2 separate regions of the Homo sapiens genome follow, and region 2 is linked to region 1. Evidence: promoter capture Hi-C in 16 types of primary human blood cells and fetal thymus (Javierre and others, 2016). All regions are on one chromosome and are shown on one strand. Each heading gives the region's core, a stretch centred on a gene start or on the middle of the fragment in contact. The rest is flanking DNA. Distances are from core to core; before and after follow the strand shown. Region 1 holds the start of MRPS16 (mitochondrial ribosomal protein S16). Region 2 has its middle 20 kb from the start of USP54.

The links. Contacts are between HindIII fragments. The CHiCAGO score rates a contact against its expected background, and 5 or more counts as called.
Region 2: a fragment that was not itself captured here is called in contact with the fragment with the promoter of MRPS16 in region 1 in 3 of 17 cell types (erythroblasts, megakaryocytes and endothelial precursors); the score reaches 6.3 in erythroblasts.

What each region holds. Positions count from the first base shown.
Region 1 is chr10:73,247,769-73,254,459 of GRCh38, reverse strand. MRPS16 (mitochondrial ribosomal protein S16) reads left to right here and starts at 1,816. Exons shown (of 3, transcript NM_016065.4): 1 at 1,816-1,990; 2 at 2,437-2,697; 3 at 3,469-5,611. The coding sequence starts at 1,978. The coding sequence ends at 3,608. CFAP70 (cilia and flagella associated protein 70) reads left to right here. Exons shown (of 28, transcript NM_001367801.1): 28 at 405-698. The coding sequence ends at 485. DNAJC9-AS1 (DNAJC9 and MRPS16 antisense RNA 1) reads right to left here. Exons shown (of 4, transcript NR_038373.1): 2 at 6,010-6,167. RefSeq lists enhancers at 1,421-1,680, 1,801-2,090, 1,530-2,097, 6,564-6,691. The HindIII fragment of the contact is 1,832 bases long and covers 861-2,692 here.
Region 2 is chr10:73,608,299-73,615,074 of GRCh38, reverse strand. It overlaps a transcript of USP54 not described here. Among named protein-coding and RNA genes, the nearest start is that of USP54, 20 kb to the right of the region's middle. The HindIII fragment of the contact is 1,863 bases long and covers 4,169-6,031 here.

The DNA of each region.
Region 1 (6,691 bases), core at 567-3,066:
AAAACCAGATCTAATATAAGCCTATGATTTCTGTCTCTGATTCCCTGATATCACTTGCCAGATGGGAATACTATGCATTAGCCAAGAGATGCTGGTAATAATGTGAACACTTTTTAAAAATAAAAAAAGTAAATTTTAATGAAGTTATCTTACAAAAAAATGTACAAATCATGACCGTGCATAGTGCTTGATGAATTTTCACAAAGTAAACATATCCATGTAACCAGGACAAGGTTCTAAGGTCTTCTACTGGAGTTTTCATGAAGTAGGGAAATAGGAAGAGCCAATTCCATCCCAGGGAACTATGTTCTTTAGCCGTAGCCCCACAAAAGAGGGGTCTTCAAAGCCACATAAAGTATATCACGTATGACATATATCTTTCCCTTTCTTCCTCTTTCATGTAGCTGAAATTGAAAGATGAGGCTCTGCTTGCAGAGATCCACACACTACAGGAAACAGTTGGCTTTGGAAATCCATCTTTCTGATACCCCTCCAGCTGAACAATTTTCTGCATGGGACTCTGAGTTCCTTTCCTTCCCAGAGAGTTTTACCGTATGAAGCCTGGAGCTGGAGAACGAAAGAATCTTCACTATAAACAGAGACCCATTCATTTATTTCCATTGGCTGTGTTACTGGATGTTTTACTGGTTGACGAGAAACTGGGTCACAATAAAAAAATGGAGATATGAAACTCAAAATTCATCAGCATGGTTCTGGAGTTAACGTATACTGAGTTACATGTAGGTATTTAGTTATATAAATAACTATAGTGTAATTGCTATAATAATTATATGGCATATATATACATACAATAAAATTAAGGTATAGTGGGGTCATTATTAGGGTTTCTGATGAAAGCTTATTGGATCACTCCTGGAGGAAGTCAGGTGCTAAGGTTTCTGGACAGGTTCAGTTAACTGAAATACAGGAATTAAGGCATCATTTTCAAAGGTGGCCCTGGAGGAAGACTGCTATGCTGGGTCACTGTATTAGGGCAAAGAGCATGCTAGCCCTTTGGAACTAACAGTAAACGAAAAAGCTGAACAGAGAGGTCTTTGCTGAAGGTGGAGCTATTGACACCTTCTCACCAAACACAGGCATCTTCATGGATCTAAACCACTAGGGCTCCAAGGAGACACCGTTACCCTCATCACCGAGGTCATATTCTAGGGCTACAGATAAAAAAAAAAAAAATCATACTTCACCTCTGCCCTGGATCACAGCACGGCAAAAGCAGGAATAACCCCTCCTTTTTTTTTTAAGGTGTGACTGCCTCGATAGGGGTGGGACGACAACAGGAGAAAAGGTGAGAGGTAAATTAATTTTGGTTAACGAGAAGGATAAAGTAAAATCTAGTCACTTACAATCCTTCTCCTAGTCTCGGCCCTGACACTACCTCCTCTGTGAAGTCTTCCTTAGCAAGCACTAGGTTTGCCTTCTCTGCTCGCTGTCCTTGCGCTGAGTACTACTGATCGCGCTAGTTTCTCTGCTGTCATCTCACGGTCTCCCCAGCGGACTGTGAGCTCCACGAGGAAAGAACAGCGCCCTTTAGTATTTGCGTTCTCAGCGTTGCGCCTCGGCACCAACGCTTGCAAGATGGATGGCTTTTGTAGCACTTTCCTTGGCGCGCCTGGGATTCGCCTAAAACTTCTGACTCCAGCAGGGACTCACAAGTCTGAGAGGGATCGCACCGCCACTCCCACAAGACACCACGAGAAACGCCTCTTTTGCAGCAGTTTAAGGTACGTTAGGGGTCACCGTGTTGCATTGTGGGAAGTATAGGGCGGCAAGCGGAGGAGGCGTGGCGAGCGGATCATCCGCTTCCGGAGTCGAGGTTTTCGGGCTTGTACCGCTTGGCGGTGCGGCCTGGTGTCGGCTTGCAGGTTCTTTCTGTGTTTGTTCTCTGCCCTGCCAAGGCCGTAGAGCTGGTGCGTGCGGGTAGCGGGGCTCTCCGAGGAGCCGCACGCCGGCGGCACCATGGTCCACCTCAGTGAGTCATCGGGCCACCGCGAGACGTTCCGGGCGGTCACGGGGCTCGGGAGTTCGGGGCCGGGTGGGGAGAGCTCTCCCAGGCGCGATGGAGGCAACCCGAACCTGAAGCAGCCACACTGCCTTACATTTGATCCTTCTCTCAGTTTTTTCCCCACTTAATCACCGCTGAAAAATTTCCACCCCATTGAAGCAGCTAAGGCTCCGACAAGGTCACAGAGCCTAGTGAATGGCAAGCCCATGCGGGGTGGGTTTGGGTATGAGGAGGAGGTCATTGCTGGCTGGACTGGCCAAGAGGGGTTTCACAAAGAAGAGTAGCATCTAAACTGGATTGACAGGAATGGATTGGAAGTGAGACATTTCAGTGGGAAAAGGGAATTGTGCCGTCTGTGTCATTTTGTCCTTTTTGTGCTGTTTTTTGTGTCCTAACCAGCTGCTTTTCTACAGCTACTCTCCTCTGCAAGGCCTACCGTGGGGGCCACTTAACCATCCGCCTTGCCCTGGGTGGCTGCACCAATCGGCCGTTCTACCGCATTGTGGCTGCTCACAACAAGTGTCCCAGGGATGGCCGTTTCGTAGAGCAGCTGGGCTCCTATGATCCATTGCCCAACAGTCATGGAGAAAAACTCGTTGCCCTCAACCTAGACAGGATCCGTCATTGGATTGGCTGCGGGGCCCACCTCTCTAAGCCTATGGAAAAGCTTCTGGGTAACTCAGCTCTGGTCTTACCTTATTGAGGGGATTTTAAACTGAAGTCAGCTCCAGGACAGTAGGTGTAAGAATGATTTTCGGCTGGGCACGGTGGCTCACGCCTGTAATCTCAGCGCTTTGGGAGGCCGAGGCGGGCGGATCACCTGAGGTCAAGAGTTTGAGACCAGAGTGGCCAACATGGTGAAACGCTGTCTCTACTAAAAATAAAAAAAAAAAATTAGTTGGGCGTGGTGACACGCACCTGTAGTCTCAGCTACTGGGGAGGCTGAGGCAGGAGAATCGCTTGAACCCAGGAGGCGGAGGTTGCAGTGAGCCAAGATCGCGTCACTGCACTCCAGTCTGGGCAACAGAGGGCGATTCCATCTCAAAGAAAAAAAAAAAAGAGTTATTTCATTCCCTCTAGGCTGTTCAGGACTGAAGTGGGAGCTGAAGTTGTGATCTAATTGGCATTTTGAATCTGGAGGCCCCTTTTGTGGACTCCTTTGTAAGACTTTGGGTGACTGGTATTTTATGCTAAAAATAGGAATAGTATGTTTTGAATGGCCATCTGTCAGTTTACGTTTTTTAAAGTAAGGGGAATATTGTTAGGGAAGTAGACATCCACTGTCTCCTTGCCGGGGAGAAGTAGTACAGAGTTTGGCAAGTGAGGAGCATGGTTTGCATCCATGCACTGGGTCAGATCTCAGACCTCAGTTCTGTGAGACAGAGTTCCTAGGGAAGCATTGGCTTATACTGTGTTATAATAAGTGAAAAATCTGTTACTTTTAGGTCTTGCTGGCTTTTTCCCTCTGCATCCTATGATGATCACAAATGCTGAGAGACTGCGAAGGAAACGGGCACGTGAAGTCCTGTTAGCTTCTCAGAAAACAGATGCAGAAGCTACAGATACAGAGGCTACAGAAACATAAATGAGCTGACTTTAGTGAGCATAGCAGTGGGAACAAGGTCAAGGTCCTTTTGAAACACTGCAGCGATCTTAATTTTGTTAGATTTGGAGTTCAATAAATGGAGTATCCTGAGTTGCCCTTGCTCTTCTGGCCTGGCCTGCACAGGGCCCAGGGAGAGATTTGTTCTTGTGTGACTTAGAGCTGGGTGTGGGTACTAATTAGCTTTTTTCGACTTTGTCTTGGGATAGACAGTGGCTATGGGAGGATTGGACTTTTGAGTTGGGCTCTGGGTCTCTTGGACAACTTTACAATTTACTGGCTTCCAAGACTTCCTGCTTCAAAACCCCCAGCCAGACTATTCATGGCCCATTCAGATCTTCATGTTCATCCCACAAGTGCAAGAACAGTTAACCTTTCTTAATTGATTTTTGTAATTGGAGGTTTATATTGTCTTGCCTAATGCATATTCTCTTTTTTTTTTTTTTTTTGAGACGGAGTCTTGTTCTGTTGCCAGGCTGGAGTGCGGTGGTGCAATCTCAGCTCACTGCAATCTCCACCTCCTGGGTTCAAGAGGTTCTCCTGCCTCAGCCTCCTGAGTAGCCGGGGAGCTACAAGCATGCACCACCACACCCAGCTAATTTTTTTTTTTTTTTTGAGAGGAGTCTCGCTCTGTCGCCCAGGCTTGAGTGCAGTGGCGCGATCTCGGCTCACTGCAAGCTCTGTCTCCTGGGTTCATGCCATTCTCCTGCTTCAGCCTCCCGAGTAGTCCCAGGAGTAGCTGGGACTACAGGTGCCCACCACCACACCCAGCTAATTTTTTTGTATTTTTAGTAGAGATGGGGTTTCACCATGTTATCCAGGATGGTTTTGATCTCCTGACCTCGTGATCCGCCCGCCTTGGCCTCCCAAAAGTGCTGGGATTATAGGCGTGAGCCACCGCCCGGGCAAATTTTTGTATTTTTAGTAGAGATGGGGTTTCACCGTGTTGGCCAGGATGGTCTCAATCTGACCTTGTGATCTGCCCACCTCGGCCTCCCAAAGTGCTAGGATTACTGGCGTGAGCCACCACTCCTAGCCTTAATGCATATTCTTAAATATACAAAGGTAGATTTGTTATGAAAATTGCTTTGGGGCTCTAATAACCTACCTTTTAAGAATGAGAAACTGCTGGGCTTAAGGGAGTTCAGTATGAATCAAGATTGAACCATTCAAATGTGGCTGTGATTTCTGCATATATCATAGATGGGATCCTTCTGAGAATACTGGAATAGGGAATTAGGACACCAAGCCAATTCAGCTGTGAACCTTATTCTTGTACTTTTCTTTCTTGCTGGTAATTTTATGGAGCAGGTTAAGAAGGCTGCTCTGTGTTAGGATAAACTGTATACCAATAATGTTGACAACCTGTAATGAGTGTTGCATTTTACTTCTTGTATCTTTTCCTTCCTACCTTGATGCCAGTAATCTATAAGGGATCTTTATAGTTTGAATGTATTTGAATAACTTCAGTATACTTTAGTTCTACTTTTTTATTTGACTCACAACCATTCTTAGGTCTCAAGTATTCCCATGTGTTTTAAAAGCCTGAAGTCAGTGAGATGAAATTCAACATCAAGAATTTGAAGTAACTTGTAAGGAAAAATAATATAAAGATACCATTGGGGCAGTGGCTCACACCTGTAATCTCAGCACTTTGGGAGGCTGAGGTGGAAGGATCACTTGAAGCCAGAGTTTGAGACCAGCCTGTGCAACACAGCAAGACCCCGTCTCTACAAAAACTTAAAAAATTAGCTGGCTGTGGTGTTGCTCACCCATAGTTCCAGCTACTCGGGAAGCTGAGGCAGTAAGATCACTTGAGCCCAGGAGGCCGATGCTGCAGTGAACTGTGATTGTTCCACTACAGTCCAGCCTGGGTGACAGAGAAAAGAAAAAGAAAACATTACATAATTTGGCTAGAGCATAATAATTTGATTTTCTGGTTTTTGAAAATTTGAGTTGCAATAAAAGGATATTTCAGTGTGCGATTTCAATTTTCCGTAGCAAATGTATATATAGAAAAATGTTAAAATAGATGTATTTGAATACCTTAAAAAATACAAGAAACTGGAAGAAAGATAATATTGCAAAGCATCTACATATATCCTAGGCCTTTTGTGTACAAGGTTATTTGTGACAATTGTAAGGTATTATGAAGGCAGGTAGGATTATCTCCGTTTTACAGATAGGGAAGCTGAGGCCTAGAGGTGGAAACTTGCCCAGTGATGTAAGATTCATCTCCCGGTTATGCCCTCCTGGAAAGCCCTTCCCAACATATTATGTTGTCCATAGAGGGAAAAATGAGCAAAGACAGATGGCTTAACTCTGGTGTGTGACTAAGATATAGGAAATTTATAGAGGAGGTTCTATCAATGTGCCGACTTACTTTGTGTTTTATGTTCTGAGAACGATTACCAGCCATCTCAAATTCTGTGGTTGTCAAAGCTCCCCTGGGGTTGTTGCTGGTTGGCCCCCACTTGCTTTGAGACTTTGATGCCAGGGCAGGTTGAGAGGAACTGACTTCAGCTGAGTTTGATCTTGGATCTGGGAAAGAGAAATGCTTTGAAAATCACGGCAACTCTGGGAAGTTTAAAAGATATTAATGTATCCTGGAGAGTTTGAGGCTTTGCAGAAACTTATTGGCAGAGCAGAATGATTCTGAAAAATGCTACATCAGTGAGGGGATATTTGATAAGGTATTTTCTGCCAACTCGGGTATTCACTTAGCATTGTTTATCCTTTAAGATATGTATACACATACTTCCTCTGTGAGTTTACCCTACTAACAAAGTTTTATCCCCAGCCTCAACCTTGCTTTGGGTCTCCAGGCCCAAGTTTCTCACCATCTCTTGGATGATTGCTCCAGCCCACTCTGCTGCCACCTGGGATCCAACATGTTCAAACCCAGCTGTGAACTTCACAGAGTATTAAAAGAAAGAGCCTTTGCTTCAGCAGTTTATGTTATTAAGACGGAGGCTTGGGTCATGTTATCTCTCTCCACCAATGTGTAAGGTGAAAGTCCTATTAGGTAAGAGTTTTTGGAAGACCCGTGTTTTGTGCTTTTTGGG
Region 2 (6,776 bases), core at 3,851-6,350, 360 kb before region 1:
GTGAGCCACCACGCCCAGCCTTTCTATTTGTTTTTGTACCCATTAACTATCCACACCTCTCCCCACTTTTCTCTTTAGACTAATAGGAACTCTCTCTGTGTATCCCTGTATTTTAAACATATATTGCACATATTTTCTACAATCTGTTGCATCATCTGTAGTGTCCGTTGATGTGCTAAAATTTCATATCTGTCTTTTTTCTTAATGGTTTCTGGGTTTTGAGGCTTGCTTAAGTAGGCTCTCTCCATCCCAAAATTATAAAAATATTTTATATTTATCCTAACTCTTTACTAGCTTATTTAACTCTTTAACTGATTTGGAATTTATCTTTATATGTTTTTGGAGGTACTCTTTTTCTCCACAAATATGCAACTGACCCAAGCCTATTTGTTGAATATCGTGTCTTTAATGATATGAAATCTTATCTTCATCATGTTCTCAATTGCCATATATCCACCATTTGTGTATGTATGTATGTACGCCTGTGTTTCCTTTTTTTTTTTTTTTTTTTTTGGAGACGGAGTCTCACTTTTGTTGCCTAGGCTGGAGTGCCGTGGCGTGATCTCGGCTCACTGCAACATCCGCCACTGGGGTTCAAGCGATTCTCTGCCTCAACCTCTGGAGTAGCTGGGACTACAGGTGCATACCACTACGCCTGGCTAATTTACTGTAATTTTAGTAGAGACGGGGTTTCACTATGTTGGCCATGCTGGTCTCGAACTCCTGACCTCAAGTGATCCATCCGCCTTGGCCTCCCAAAGTGCTGGGATTACAGGTACCAGCTATTGCGCCTAGCCTGCATGTGTTTATTTTTGAATATTTCTGTTCTTTTCAGTTGTTTATTCTTGGGCCAGTACCATACAGTTTTTTTGTTTGTTTTTTGAGACAGGTATCACCCAGGCTGGAGTGCAGTGGTGCGATACTGGGTCACTGCAGCTTTGACCTCCCGGGCTCAAATGATCCTTCCACTTTAGCCTCCCCAGTAGCTGTAACTACATGTGTATGGCACCACGTGTGACTAATTTTTGTATTTTTAGTAGAGATGAGGTTTCTCCATGGCCTAGCTGGTCTCGAACTCCTGGCCTCAAGTGACCTGTCCTCCTCGGCCTTCCAAAGTGCTAGGATTACAGGTGTGAGCCACTAAATCCTTTTGCTAACTATAATTTTTTCTTCTGTGTTTTTTTTTTTTCTTTTCAAGACAGAGTCTTGCTCTGTCACCTAGGCTGGAGTGCAGTGGCACAATCTCGGCTCAACTGTAACCTCCGCCTTCTGGGTTCAAGTGATTCTTCCCTCTCAGCCTTCTGAGTAGCTGGGATTACAGGCACGCGCCACCACGCCCAGCTAATTTTTTGTATTTTTAGTAGAGACGGGGTTTCACCATGTTGACCAGGGTGGTCTTAAACTCCTGGCCTCAGGTGGTCGGCCTGCCTCAGCCTCCCAAAGTTTTGGTGTGAGCCACCACGCCCAGCCCTTTTGGGTTTTCAAGATAGTCATATTTCTAACTGTTCACGTCTTTGCCTATCTCTGTTTTGGCATATGCAATTTTTTTCTTATTTTGACGTTTTGAATCTCTTTATAGTAAAAATATTCTTTTTTTTGGTGGGGGTGACAGGGTCTCAAAAAAAAAAATGGTGGTAGGCCGGGTGCGGTGGCTCACGCCTGTAACCCCAGCACTTTGGGAGGGGGAGGCCGAGGCAGGTGGATCACCTGAGGTCCGGAGTTCGAGACCAGCCTGGCCAACATGGTGAAACCCCATCTTGACTAAAAATACAAAAATTAGCTGGGCATGGTGGCATGCACCTGTAGTCCCAGCTACTCCGGATGCTGAGGCAGGATTGCTTGAACCCGGGAGGTGGAGGTTGCAGTGAGCCAAGATCACGCCACTGTACCCCAGCCTACGTAACAGAGTGAGACTCCATCTCCAAAAAAAAAAAAAAAAAAAGAGGCTGGAATGCAGTAGCACGGTCACCACTCACTACAGCCTTGACCTCCTGGGCTTAAGCAATCCTCCCACCTCAGCCTCCTGAGTAGCTGGGACCAGAGGCACGCACCACCATGCTTGGCTAATTTTTTGTGTTTCTTGGAGAGACGGGGCCTCACCATGTTGCCAAGGCTGGTCTCAAACTCTTGAGCTCAAGTGATTCTGCTATCTTGGTCTCCCAAAGTGCTGAGATAACAGGTGTGTGCCACCACGCCCAGCCAAATATATTCTTTTTTTTTTTTTTTTTTTTTTTTGAGACAATGTCTCACTCTGTCTCCCAGGCTGGAGTGCTTTGGCAAGATCTCTGCTCATTGCAACCTCCACCTCGTGGGTTCAAGGATTTTCCTGCGTCAGCTTCCTGAGTAAGTGGGGTACAGGCATGCACCACCACGCTCAGCTTATTTTTGCATTTTTAGTAGAGACTGGGTTTTGCTATGTTGGCCAGGCTAGTCTTGATCTCCTGATCTCAGGTGATGTGCCAGCCTTGGCCTCCCTAAGTGCTGGGATTACAGCCATGAGCCACCTCACCCGGCCATCAAGTATATTCTTTATCATATAGCTGGCAATGTTTTTTCTAGTTTGCTGTTTACTTTTAGGGGAAATCTCTTGACCATCAGTGAGTAAAACACTAGAATAGGCTGTTATAATGCTTGTAATATCTTGACATGAGGAAAATTCTAGGATGGCTGGAATTTGTAAAATCAAGTCTGTTGAATAAATTTATGAATTAAAACAAGGGGGAAAAAGCCTACTTTTGGGTACAAATGTGATTTGACTATAAAATTCTGGTATTCATTTAATGTTTTTTACAGTTATGTGCCATCTGAGTTAGAGGGGTTGCATTTAAAATTGGGGAGAAGCTAGCTCAATAAAATTGATCAGATTAAAAATCCTCAATAGTATATGTAAATAATAACTATCTGATATTTAATTATACATATAGGATAAATTAGGTTTTCTGTCTATCTATTTTATTTTATTTTTGAGACAGGGTCGAACTCTTTCCCAGGTGGGAGTGCAGTGGCGGGATCTCAACTCACTGCAGCTTCAACCTCCCTGGGCTCAGGTGATCCTCCTGCCTCAGCCTCCCGAGTAGCTGGGACTATAGGGGCATACCACCGTGCCTGGCTAGTTTTTTTGTATTTTTCGTAGAGATGAGTTGTCACTGTGTTGTGCAGCCTGGTCTGGAACTCATGAGGTCAAGTGATCTGCCTGCCTCGTCTCCCAAATTGCTGGGATTTACAGGTGTGAGCCACTGCACCTGGCCTATTTTATTTCATTTTTATTACTATTTTTTTGAGATGGAGTCCCGCTCTGTTGCCCAGACGGAGTGCAGTGGCGTGATCTCTACTCACTGCAACCTCCGCCTCCCAGGTTCAAGCGATTCTCCTGCCTCAGCCTCCTGAGTAGCTGGGATTATAGGTGCCTGCCACCATGCCCAACTAATTTTTTTTTTTTTTTTTTTAGTAGAGACGGGGTTTCACCATGTCGACCAGGCTGGTCTCGAACTCCTGATGTCAAGGGATGCACCTGCCTTGGCCTCCCAAAGTGCTGGGATTACAGGTGTGAGCTACTGCGCCCAGCCTATTTTTTATTTATTTATTTTTTCTAGATCTGGGTTCTCACTATGTTGCCCAGGCTGGCCTGGAACTCCTTCACTCAAGCCATCCTCCCACCTTAGCCTTCCAAGTAGCTGAGCTTATAGATAGGAGCTACCATACCTTGTACTTCACTAAGGTTTTTAATTTAGTTTATCAATATTAAAAAATATGGACACATTTTTAATATTTAATGAGAAGTAGTAGAAAAATGGAATTCACTTTAAGGCTCACTTTTCTGTCTTTTTCTCCCAGAGAGTATATTGGTAGAAAAGCTTATCCAAATTTTACTTATTTTAGTTTCAGGGATACTTTCATATAATAAATTTGTGAATTATTTTATTTTTATGGCTTATATCAGGCACATATATGAATATTTGTATATTAAGGAGGTATGATGGTAGAATGTACAAAAATGTTTTTTAAAAAACTCACTGTTGCTTTTCTAGAATTTTTCTTATTTCAGTTTGTCTGTATAAATATTCTCTATAGATAAGTGACTTTTAAGGAAAAGCTGTTATATTCATTACATAGCTTGTTGCAAATAGGAAATCTAGCCCTATTATTGTTGGTATGAAACTAACAAGCTTTTCTGAAAGCCATATTTTAGTGTTTTGGCACTGTGTGGTAGCATTACCTTCCCGTGCCATGTTGAAAGCAAGAAACATGTTCTACAAAGCACATTTTTTTCAAATAGCATTTGAGTTTTTAAATGAAAACAGAAGCTGAGGTAAGGCTATATTGTATTCTTGCAAAATACATTTTTGTTTTATTGTGACCTGTGTGTAGGTTCATTTTTTCTAGGATGTTTGAAAAGTTTCTTTCTTTTTTTTTTCTTTTTCCTGAGACAGAACTGTCTCAGAAAAGTGATAGATGTCAGTTCTTGCTCAGTGGTCCAGGCTGCAGTGCAGTGGTGCGAACTCGGCTCACTGCAACCTCTGCCTCCTGGGTTCAAGCGATTCTCCCACTTCAGCCTCCCAGATAGCTGGGACTACAGGTGTGTGTGCCACCATGTCCGGCTAATTTTTGTAATTTTAGTAGAGTTGGGGTTTCACCATGTTGGCCAGGCTGGTCTCAAACTCCTGACCTCGAGTGATCCGCCCACCTTGGCCTCCCAAAATGCTGGGATTACAGTACAGGTGTGAGCCGCTGTGCCTGGCCAAAAGTTTCTGATATAAAGCTGGCAGGAAGTCAGTGACAATTATTAAGTCTTGGAAGAAAAATTTCTAAGTTTCTCCTGAGAAGAAATTTCTGAAGAAACATCTTGTAGATAATGTAGTTTCACAGTAAAGTTTTTTTATTTTTATTTTTTTAATTTGAGGCAGAGCCTTGTTCTGTCACCCAGGCTGGAGTGCAGTGGTGTGATCTCAGCTCACTGCAGCCTCCGCCTCCCAGGTTCAAGTGATTCTCATGCCTCAGCCTCCCAAGTAGCTGGGATTACGGGCATGTGCCACCACACTTGGCTAATTTTTTTTTTTTTTTTTTGGAGACAGAGTCTTGCTCTATCACCAAGGCTGGAGTGCAGTGGCGTGATTTTGGCTCACTGCAACCTCCGCCTCCCAGGTTTAAGCAGTTCTCCTGCCTCAGCCTCCTGAGTAGCTGGGATTACAGGCGCACGCCACCACACCCAGCTAATTTTTTTTTTTTTTTTTTGTGACGGAATCTCGCTCTGTAGCCAGGCTGGAGTGCAGTGGCATGATCTTGGCTCACTGCAACCTCCGCTTCCCAGGCTCAAGCGCTTCTCCTTCCTCAGCCTCCTGAGTAGCTGGGATTATAGGTGCCTGCCACCATGCCCAGCTAATTTTTGTATTTTTAGTAGAGATGGGGTTTCACCATGTTGGCCAGCATGGTCTCGATCTCCTGACTTCATGAGCCGCCCACCTCTGCCTCCCAAAGTGCTGGGATTACAGGCAGGAGCCACCATGCCCGGCAATTTTTGTATTTTAAGTAAAGACAGGGTTTCACCATGTTGGCCAGGTTGGTCTTGAACTCCTGACCTCAAGTGATTCGCCCACCTCGGCCTCCCAAAGTGCTGGGATTACAGGCGAGAGCCACAGCACCCAGCCTCATGGTAAAGTTTATATAGAAAAATGTATTCTCTGTGGAAACAAAACTTATTTGTGTGCCATTGTTTCATTTCTGACCCGGGCTGAGCTTTTATTTCTCTGTGCAGATCCATTTCCTTTGATGGTACATCCTGTCTTGGATGTTGACCCCAGTCAGAGCTGTATAGTGCCAAAACAAGATAGTTCTTTGGTTCTTTTTTGCCATTTCTTTCAACTCCTTGTTTATCTTTACTCATGGTCATTGAAGATCAGAAGGGTATTTAGGAACAAATGGGAATTCTATGTGTTCCTTCAGTGTTAGGGGAACACCAGGGAGACGCAATATCATTTTAATATTGGGTTTTCACCTTTCCTGATGCCCACTAGGTCTAAGGAAACATCAAGCTTATTTTACAGCTTGATATAAGAAACTTTGTAATTACCAAATTAAGCTTTAGACACCTCAGTGTTTTGGAGTACTTACTGATATCTATAATACATATTCCTAGGGCCTATGCCTTTCCATATAAATTTTACTTATTTTTTGAGACAAAGTCTCACTCTGTCCCCCTGGCTGGAGTGCAGTGCTGTGATCTTGGGATCTTGGCTCACTGCAACCTCCACCTCCCAGGTTCAAGTGATCCTTCCACCTCAGCCTCCTGTGTAGCTGGGACTACAGACACGCGCTAGCATGCCCTGCTAATTTTTTATATTTTTAGTAGAGACTGGGTTTCATCATGTTGGCTAGGCTGGTCTCGAACTCCTGGGCTCAAATGATCTGCCCACCTCGGCCTTCCAAAATGTTGGAATTACAGGCATGAGCCACCAAGCCTGGCCAAATTATTAAATGTTTTTGAACCTCACTTCCCTTATCTGTGAGATTAGGATAATAATAACCTACCTGAGCAAATTAAATGAAGTGATAGATGTCAGTTCTTAGCACAGTAGCCATAATGTTATAGGGACTCTAAATTTCAGTTTTCTTTTTCCCTTCCTTGAGCTGATTTAAGTTTTAAAAGATAGTGATTGTAAAATTACTCGTAAATGTATACAGTTATTTCAAATATTGTTCATGTTTGTGTTAAAAACAGTCAAACTCATTTTGGTTATGTTGGTATAAGAGGGAAACGTAGGGAAATGAGACAATAGAGA